Regions from separate parts of the Homo sapiens genome. Here region 2 is linked to region 1. Evidence: promoter capture Hi-C in human tissues and cell types (Jung and others, 2019). All regions are on one chromosome and are shown on one strand. The core of a region is centred on a gene start or on the middle of the fragment in contact, and the rest is flanking DNA. Distances in the headings are between cores, read along the strand shown. Region 1 holds the start of NUDT9 (nudix hydrolase 9). Region 2 has its middle 8.3 kb from the start of PKD2.

What was found. The method cuts DNA at HindIII sites, captures the fragments that hold promoters and counts their contacts. A contact is called where the count stands out against the background at its distance.
Region 2: a fragment that was not itself captured here is called in contact with the fragment with the promoter of NUDT9 in region 1 in 1 of the 25 tissues and cell types used here (liver).

The regions. Positions count from the first base shown.
Region 1 is chr4:87,418,981-87,423,953 of GRCh38, forward strand. NUDT9 (nudix hydrolase 9) reads left to right here and starts at 3,593. Exons shown (of 8, transcript NM_024047.5): 1 at 3,593-4,032. The coding sequence starts at 3,926. RefSeq lists enhancers at 3,362-3,411, 3,481-4,415, 4,959-4,973. The HindIII fragment of the contact is 9,950 bases long and covers 1-4,973 here.
Region 2 is chr4:87,996,933-88,001,675 of GRCh38, forward strand. It overlaps the pseudogene RNU1-36P. Among named protein-coding and RNA genes, the nearest start is that of PKD2, 8.3 kb to the right of the region's middle. The HindIII fragment of the contact is 5,272 bases long and covers 1-4,743 here.

The sequences.
Region 1 (4,973 bases), core at 2,343-4,842:
CTGACATTTTGGCGAGAGTGGGAGCAAGAAAGAGGTGGACAAGGTGTCATACATCTTTAAACAACCAGATCTTGCATGAACTCACTATCACAAGGATAGCACTATCACAAGGGATCCACCCTCATGACCCAAACACCTCCCACCAGACCTCACCTCCAACACTGGGGAATACATTTCAACATGAGATTGGAGGGGAGAAATATCCAAACTATATCAGGGAAATAGTTGGGATTCTGAATTACTCTTACTTTTAACATACTCATCAATTCTAATAATCACATATGTCACTTTCCTATTTAAAAATTCTCATTTCTCAGTGTTCTTGGTCTGTCTCACCAACTATTGCAAGATGCCCTTGAAGTTGGTATATGCTTCATAAATTTTTAAAAAGTCCTTACTTCTCCTTAAATTCTGATGACATCTGTTTAACTAATTTAGGATGTGGGTAATTTGATGAGGAGATGTTTTGTTTCTACCCAAGAGCAGGTTGCAGAACATGCACTCACTACACCTGAGCAGATGTGCAGTATGCATCCCTGAAGGGAGGAACCCAGGAGATCTGGCTGTCCCAGCTAATTGCAGTTTTGTTTCAGTGCCATGGAATTGGTTTTGTTTGTACAGTTGTTTGCACAGGTTCATCAAACTAAGTTCACGCTAGCCTCCCCTTAGGGAATATGGAGTTATAAGACTAGGGTCTGAGGAGCTTCCTGTGAGAACTACTTTCTGTTGCTCCCTTTCTTTGATTGTTGACTTTGTAACTCACTGCTTTTCTCCTGTCTTCTCTAGTGACTAATTTGTCAACAGACTTTGGACACGCTGAACTTGATGAACAGAGCCGGTCTAATACATTTCCAGTTTAAGCAGTGATTAACAACACTGAGAGCAAAGTTTATCTGACCAGAGGAAGCCGAGTACTGATATTTATCTTTAAAATGCACATTTCAATAATAGTACTTCTCAACCTGAGAAAGCAGTCAAAATAAACAAAGCTGGACACTAGTTAAAGCAGTAAGGACAGACTTTATTCAGTGATGCTAGTCCAATAGGGAAAAGAGTGTAATACAAACTAATCCCACACTTCCCTGAAACAAAAGGCTGTGGTATGCAAAAAGGAAAGGCACAAAAGGATCTTAAGTTTTGGGGGGTGGCAGGGGGGCACGGTGGTTTGTTGATTGATGTGATTAGGCCATTTGGGTTTGTTAACTGGCTCTTATCCAGAGGAGAAACAAACTTCTATCTTTATGATAGGAGGCAGTGGTGCTAGCTAAAGCAAGGTACCGGTCTTGTACAGGGACTAGGAGCTAGGGTGAGTTATCTTTCTGAATATTTGCATTTCAAAGAGATGGCTCCCAAGTCTTTGAGGAAACTGTGTTGGGTGGTAGACTTACATCACCAAGGGTAGAGAAACAAGCTTTCTAAAGTGACTGCTCTAAGAAGGGGTTCAGGGACCTATCTGCCTATCATCAAGTTTTGGCTGGAACAAACAGTAAATTCTCCAGGCATTGAGTTTTGATTTCAGGGAAGCATTTTAACGGGATCTGGGGTCAGCCTAGGGACAAGGCCTTAAGCTACTGGAAGCTATGCTAGAGTATAATCAAATCTCTCAGTGCCGAGAAAAGAACTTTTATATGAGGAAGGTAAATCCTTTTAAATTACCAGGCCCAGAGAGACATTAAAATGAGACAGCAATTACATCCTACTCCCCACTTTGTTATGCATTCATCTCTTTAAACTGCTTACTATAGCCACAAGTAGCTAAAAATTAACCTAATAATGGTACACTGGACACTGTAACTCGCACCCTATAGCTTAACGTATAGCCAACCACTAACCAATACTATTTCTACAAACCAGTAATTCTTTACAACTTTGTATCAGTCAACTCCCTGTCCCCTTTTTGCCTTTAAAAACCTGATTGTAACAAAGGTGGACAGGAGTTCACATTTAAGGTTACTTGGGTCTGGGTCTTCTGGGCAGCTGTCCTCACTTTGGCTAAAGTAAATGCTTTAAGTTCTATCTCGTGCCTCAGCGTCTAGGTTGACAGTGTAGTTTGAACAGTCAATACCTGTCGAGAGTTCTGCAGTTTTCAGAACAATGGTTGTTAAAATTCGATTAATCTGGCTTTTAAGATGGTCAAAGTTTTGTAACGTCGGTGTATTGGAACCACACCACAGAAACAGCGGATCATGTAAGTAAAAGTCAAATAGTTGCCACATCAATAAGCTAATATAAATGAAGTAAGCCTGATTACAAGCTGCTTTGGACAGTCTGGGTTTCCAACTTTGTTTGTCGGTTTGTTTAATTTTTGCCTCTCAAGTTTATTATCCAGTATTATGTGTGTTGCCCTCTGTTCCTCCTCCAGCATGTGTGCCTATTTTCACAGCTTTTCTCCTCCACGAGTTTCCAAGGGCCACAACTGGTCCTAGCAAAGCCTTGTGAATGAAATCCAGCAATTGGAGCAGACAACTTGGTTAAGAAAACAAAAACAAAAAACCAAGAAACCCTTCAAGATACGAGGGCTGAGTCTCTGGACTATCTCCTCTTGCTGTAACCGCCCAAGGGGTTCACCTTTCCCGCTTCCTAGACAGAGCTGATTCATCAAGACAGGGGAATTGCAATAGAGAAAGAGTAATTCATGCAGAGCCAGCTGTGTGAGACCGGAGTTCTATTATTACTCAAATCAGTCTCCCTGAGCATTCAGGGAGCAGAGGTTTTTTCTTTTTTTTTTTGATACGTAGTTTCACTCTTGTCGCCCAGGGTGGAGTGCAGTGGTGCGACGTTGGCTCACTGCAACCTCCACCTCCCGGGTTCAAGCGATTCTCCTGCTTCATCCTCCTGAGCAGCTGGGACTACAGGCGCGTTTACCACCATGCCCAGCTAATTTTTGTATTTTTAGTAGAGACGAGGTTTCACCACGTTGGCCAGGCTGGTCTTGAACTCCTGACTGCAAGTGATCCCGCCTCGGCCTCCCAAATCAGTCATAATTTTGCAAAGGCGGTTTCATTCCCATAACGAAGTATTATTCAAAAATATGGCTAAGACCTGCGTCCTTCCGCAACAACTTACTCCCTAAAAAAACCAGAGCAGGGCCAGGCGCGTTGGCTGAGGCCTGTAACCTCAGCACTGTGGGAGGCCCAAACAGTTGGATTATTTGAGCTTGAGAGTTGGAGACCAGCCTGGGCAACATGGCAAAAATCTGTCGCTACAAAACATACAAAAATTAGCCAGGTATGGCGGTGTGTGCCTGTAGTCCCAGCTACGTCGGGGGCTGAGACAAGAGACTCGCTTAAGCCCAGGAGGTTGAGGCGGCAATGAGCTGAAATCGCGCCCCTGCACTGCAGCCTGGGCGACAGAGCCAGACTCTTGTCTCAAAAAACAAAAACCAAAAACCCAGGGCAGCAAGTCTCTCTCAAACCCCTTGGCTTCTTTCCCACTTATTCCCGTTCCAGTTCCTCGTCTGTTTCACCTTTCCTTTCCTCTGACACTTTCTTGGTAGTTCCCTGCGTCCCCAAGTAAGCCTGCGCAGACTGGGAAGTCTGGGAAGTCGGAGAAGGAAGGCGCTACCAAGCCGGCAACGCACGACCTTTGCTTTGCGGCGCGGCCGTAAAGCGCCATTACGCAGAGAGAAAGTTACGAGGTTCGTGGCCGCGGTTTCCCCAGGCAGCTGGCGCTGGAGGCTTCGGCGTCACGTGCTGGTCTGGATTTTTCTCGATGCACTGGGGAAAGCGGTGGACTCTTATCGTGGGAGGGCTCTTGATCTGTGATTTATAGATAGGCACAGCTACTCCCGTTCGGGAACCCAACGGCAGACAGGTCCTAGTGCCCATCAGATACCCGCGGCCGGGACTCGGAGCTGTGGGGTGTGGGGAGGCGGAGGCACCAACTAAGAGCGACCTAGCATCGCAAAGCCGCCCTCGGGGCGCTCATGGCGGGACGCCTCCTGGGAAAGGCTTTAGCCGCGGTGTCTCTCTCTCTGGCCTTGGCCTCTGTGACTATCAGGTCCTCGCGCTGCCGCGGCATCCAGGCGTTCAGGTATTCCACCCTCCTACTACCGGCTCCTTTGCCCTAGACCTTGAGTTGGGGGTGGGAAGCAGCTTTTTTTTCTGGCGTATTCTGTAGGCTTTGCTTTGCCTCTCGGGTTTTTATAGTCATATACAAGTTTTCAAAAAGGCTCTAAAATATTTTATCTGCCTTTTGAGGAAAACGAGTGGCAGGGACCCTTCTTGACTTCTGATTTTGAAATTTGCCATTCTCTGTAAATCATTGTTAGTATCACGAGAGAGTTTAAATAGCAATTGTTTGGGGTGGTGGTGTCCCGTGCCATTTTTTTATGGTTAATACTTAAAACATTATTATTAGTATTAATACATGTACATAGTTAAAACAACTTGAAAATGTAAAATGAAAAGTAAAATCACTATTCCCCCTGTCCCCTTTCCAGGGTGGACAATATATTATATTTACTATCTACCTCCTTTTTTTTAATAATTTGTCTATTGTGGTTAAATTTAGGGATTTATGGTGTCTTACACTGCCTCCTTCTGTTCTTCCCTTCTCCAGTTTTTATTCTTTGAGTTAGTAAACACAGGGTCCTAGGTGCAGCAGCCTTTTCTTATTTTATAGATATTAAAAGTCTTGAATCTACAAAGATGATAATTAGAAAAATCTATTTCCTAAATAATTTACTTACTGTTGGTCAATTGTTCTGTGTCTTTTTGGTCCTGTTTCCTTCTGTTGCTTTTTCTCGAACATGTGATGGGCACTGGTTATCTGTCTATATTTTGATTAATATGAGTAATAGGTCTTGTTTTCAGTACATGGGTCGCTAATTGACTTTTGGCTCTGTACCAGGTTGCCTAGATAGGAAGGTTTCAGTTGAGGGCATGTGAGCAGGTACCAGATGGGTAGACTGGGAACCTGCCTTTTGCTTCAGGCTTTGCAGTAGTGGTGGAGCAACTTCTCTGCTGAGTATA
Region 2 (4,743 bases), core at 878-3,377, 580 kb after region 1:
CAAATAACAGACCAACAAAATATTATAAACCAAAAACTATTAGAACCACAATGAATAATCAATAAAAACATACAAATAGTGAAAATTTCAACTTATTACTTGGAATCACTTAGATTCGCTAAGAAAATTGGTGACATACTCAGCAGAATAGTTTCACAAGGAGTCATACAAGACAGACCAGCCTTTACTCTAGGCTAGTTTGGTCCTACTACGGAGGCATTGTCCTTCTGAGTATTCTCTTCAACACCTCATACAGTATAAGATTTCTTCAATTCAGATGACAAAAACTTGAGAAATTTCCCGGTCTATGTGAACATCAGGAATTTTTCCACCTGCTTCTTTCTGGTAGTTCTTTCCCTTGCCTCAGGTGGGTTCACCAAACGCATGATCTGAAAACTCAAGGGAAACTCTGTGGAGGTAGCTGGAGCTCTTTCTCTGCACAATACTCTTTTTTTTAGTTCTTTGTGAATTCTGTCCACTTTGACTTTCCCCAAATTCTCAATGAACTCTGTCTTCTCAATTGAGTGAGACTGATAGCTTGAAATCTCTTTCTAGGGAATCAGTAGAGAAACCATAGGGTTTACTTCCTTTTTTTATCTTCTTTGAAAAATTACTGTTTATACTGCCTGTTGTCCCATGTTTCAGAACCATCCTTTATAAATTTTGTCTGTATTTTGTTTAAGTAAGAGGGTAAATCTGTCCGTGTTGCTCCATCAGAGCCAGGAACAGAAATCCTTTAAAAATAATTTTAACTTTAAAAAAGAATGAAAAATATAAAATAAAATACATGACCATGGAAAAATGAAAAGTGAGCTGGCAGAATTCACAGGAGGAATTAAAGATTTTCAATAAATAATTAGGAAAAGAAAAGCCACCTTTAAAACCACAAAATCATGAATGGTACAATAATATGAAGGTCAAGATTTATAAAAATCCTATTAAAAATAAAAATAGAAAATGACAGAAAGAGAAATTAGAAAGGAGATAATACAGAAACATGACACAGTAGCTCAACATATGCGTAATAGGTATTGCTAAATTTACAGAATTAATGAAACAGCAGATTATTTGAAATTATAAAAGAAGAAAACCTTGTTAAAATAAGTAAAAATTTGAATTTGCTGATTAAACATGCACAATATCTCCTAGGTAAATAATTATGCTGAATAATCAACAGAAAGATGTATCTGAGAGCAGGATAACAATAACAATAGTAATAATAATAATTTCACTAAACAGACATAACTTTTGGGCCAAATAATAATCATAATAAAATACTCATCTACTCAGCCTGAGAGAAAAACAATGGGTTTAATCTGACCTCCTACTTTTCCCATAACAACATTTAATGGCAGAGGAAAGTGGAGGAATATTTAGAAAATCCTAAAGAGGAGGAGAAAAGATTAAACTGAAAAATATAATGCCCAATCCATTCGTTTTATGTCTATGGTAACAGAAAGGCCTTCTTAATTTTAAACAGTTTTGGGGAATAATGAAGCATTAATGGGTTGTTCTTTGAAAACAAACCAAAAAAAAAACACCTAATAAAAAATCTACTCCAGAAGGTTTAAATAAAGAGAAAAAAATTCAAGGAAGAAAAATTCATGTTAGTAAAGTACTGGTAGTAACTAACTATTGGGTACTATGCTCAGTACCTGGATGACATGATCTTTCATACCCCAAATCTCAGCATCACACAATATACCCAGGTAACAAACCTGCACATATACCTCTGAGTCTAAAATAAAAGTTGAAAAAAAGAGAGAAAACTAGCTTTATTTTTAATGGTTTGCTTTAATGTAACAGCGGTGTGTTAACTCAGTACAAACATTGAAGGTGATCAGAAAACTCATGAATTTTTATTATAGGAACTGTGGAATATTCTATATATATCTGAAACTTATAGTTACTTGTTTTAGGATATCCATAATAAAACTCTTTCATGTGGTTTTCTGGGTCATTGTTTTCAGGAATAAGCTTGGTGTATAATATTGAATGCTCTTAGAAGTTGGATCTGCATATTTTCTCTTTTATCTCTACAAATTAAACAATACTAGGAACTATCTTCTATAAAATATAAATTTAACAATATGTTAATGACTATCTATAAAGATAATATACTTTTAAAAAAGTACTGGTAGTGAACAATGAAAAATTAAAATATATAAAATAAGTTATATTTACTGTTGTACCACAAAATGAAAGTTTATAGACTTTGGCAAATGTAAAAGATATTTATTTTAAAAGGTGTTTGTTGGTAAAAAGTTTACATTTGCTAATATCCTTATCTTTAAGAAGAAAGGTCAAAGGCTACTGTATTAGTCCATTTTCACACTGCTATAAAGCTACTATCCAAGACTGGGTAATTTATAAAGGAAAAAGGTTTAATTGACTCACAGTTCTACATGGCTGGGGAGGCCTCAGGAAACTTACAATCATGGCGGAAGGAGAAGGGGAAGCAAGGACCTTCTTCACCTGGTGGCAGGAGAGAGAAGTGAGGATGCAGGAAAAACTGCCATTCATAAAACCATCAGATCTCATGAGAATTCACTCACTATCACGAGAACAGCATGGGGGAAACTGCCTTCATAATTCAATCACCTCCCTCCCTTGACATGTGGGGATTACAACTGGAGATAAGATTTGAGTGGAGACACAGAGCTAAACTATATCAGCTACTGAAAAAAGTTGATAAATTAAAAAAAAATTAAAAATAAAAATAAAAAAAAAAGTAGACAAGGCTTAATTTTGTTGATGAAACCTATGACAGACTTCTAGACCCACCTTACTTTCAAATTCTTGGGCACTTAAAATAATTACTTAAGTAATATAAAGTGTACAGAAGCCAACAGAGAATATGTTTCTTTGCCTTAGTCCTCCAGTCCTACCCTATGTATAACGTGCCCCCAGCATATACCCTTTGTATACATAGGACTGTTGTCTTACCACAGAAACTAAGAACTAGAATTGTTGGATCAAATGGAATGCACTTTTTAAATAGTAATATATGCTGCCCAACTATCTTCCGAAAAGCCTTCACTACATTATTATAATCTCACCAAAAGCACATAGATGAGAATACCTATTGCCTATATTTATTAACACTGAATGTTATTGATCTATTGAATAAAAAGTTATCTTAATATAAAATTTCAAAAAAAAAAAAAAAATTGAAGATAAGCCACAGACTGAAAGAAAATATTTGCAAAAGACCTATCTGATAAAGGATTGTGATTCAAAATATACAAAGAACCCTTAAAGTTCAACAAGAAAATAAGCCACCCGATTGAAAAATAGGCCCAAAAGACTTACCAGGCAGGGTAGATACCATGACCACAAGGGTAGTTTTCCCTAGGGCAAGGCTTCTCTATTCCACTGAAGACTTGCTGATCCCTGTGATTTCTCCAAATGTGGGAAACTCAACTGCGTAATTTGTGGTAGCAGCATACTGCATTCATGCTTTTCCCCAGTAAATAAAAGGAAAAAATGAGCCAACAACCTGAACAGACACCTTACCAAAGAAGATATACAGATGGCAACTGAGCATATGAAAAGATGCTCCACATATATGTCAATAAGGAATTGCAAATTAAAACAACGAGATCCAATTGCCCGCCCATTTGAATGGCCAAAATCCAAAACACTGATAATGCTACTGCTGTTGAGGATGTGGAAAAAGAACTCTTATTTATTGCTGATGGGAATGCTGTAAATAATATTACAAAGACATGTGTACCTGTATATTCATTGCAGCACTATTCATAATAGCAAAGACATAGAGTCAATCTAGGTGCCCATCAATGATGGATTGGATTTTTTAAAACATGGTACTATACACTATGAAATACTATGAAGCTATGAAAAAGAATAAAATCATGTCCTGTGCAGCAACATGGATGCAGCTGGAGGCCATTAACCTAAACAAATTAACATAGTAACTGAAAGCCAAATACCACATGTTCTCACTTATAAGTGGGAGCTAACCTTTGGGTGCCCATGGATAAAGATGGCAACAATAGACAGTGGGGAATACAAGAGGAGGGAGGGAGGGAAAGGGGCAAGGGTAAAGTTGAAATAATTTTTTTAATTTTTTAAAAGGATATTTTTTGGCTCATGGAGTCCAGGGGTGGATCTAGCTTCAATTAGTTCTAACTCAGGGGTTCAAATGATGTCCTGAGAACCTAGTCTTTCTCTGTCTCTTTGATCTACTCTCTTAAAATACAGATTCCTAGGACCTAGCTGAGACATAATGAATCAGAATCCCTAGAAGTTAGACTCCAGAATCTTTATTTAAAATAAAACAAAACAAAAAAAACTTCCCAGAAGAATGTCATAAAGCTCTTATTGGTTAAATGTTTTATCCATGTATAGCAAGCTAGTTACAAGCTTCTTGCAGGCATAAACAACTTCTTTAGCATCCTAATCATATCTAAGATTGTACGAAGGGGACATAAAACAGGTACTCTGCAAAGTCTGGTAGATCTGGGAATGCTGGAAGCCTCATTCATGTTGGCATCAAAAGGTATTTGAAAAAAAATTGTGATAAGCTTTGGAAAAATCTGGGCTAGTGAAAATTGGATTTAAAGTTTTTTTAAAATACAACTATACCCAAACAGTACTAGTGAATAAACTAGAGTTGATGAAGAGAAGAGCTGCACACAGTATTTCAAAGAACTCTGTTCTTGGCCCCAATTTGTTCAAAATTCTTTTGAACTTGGATAAAAATATAGATAATAAATATCA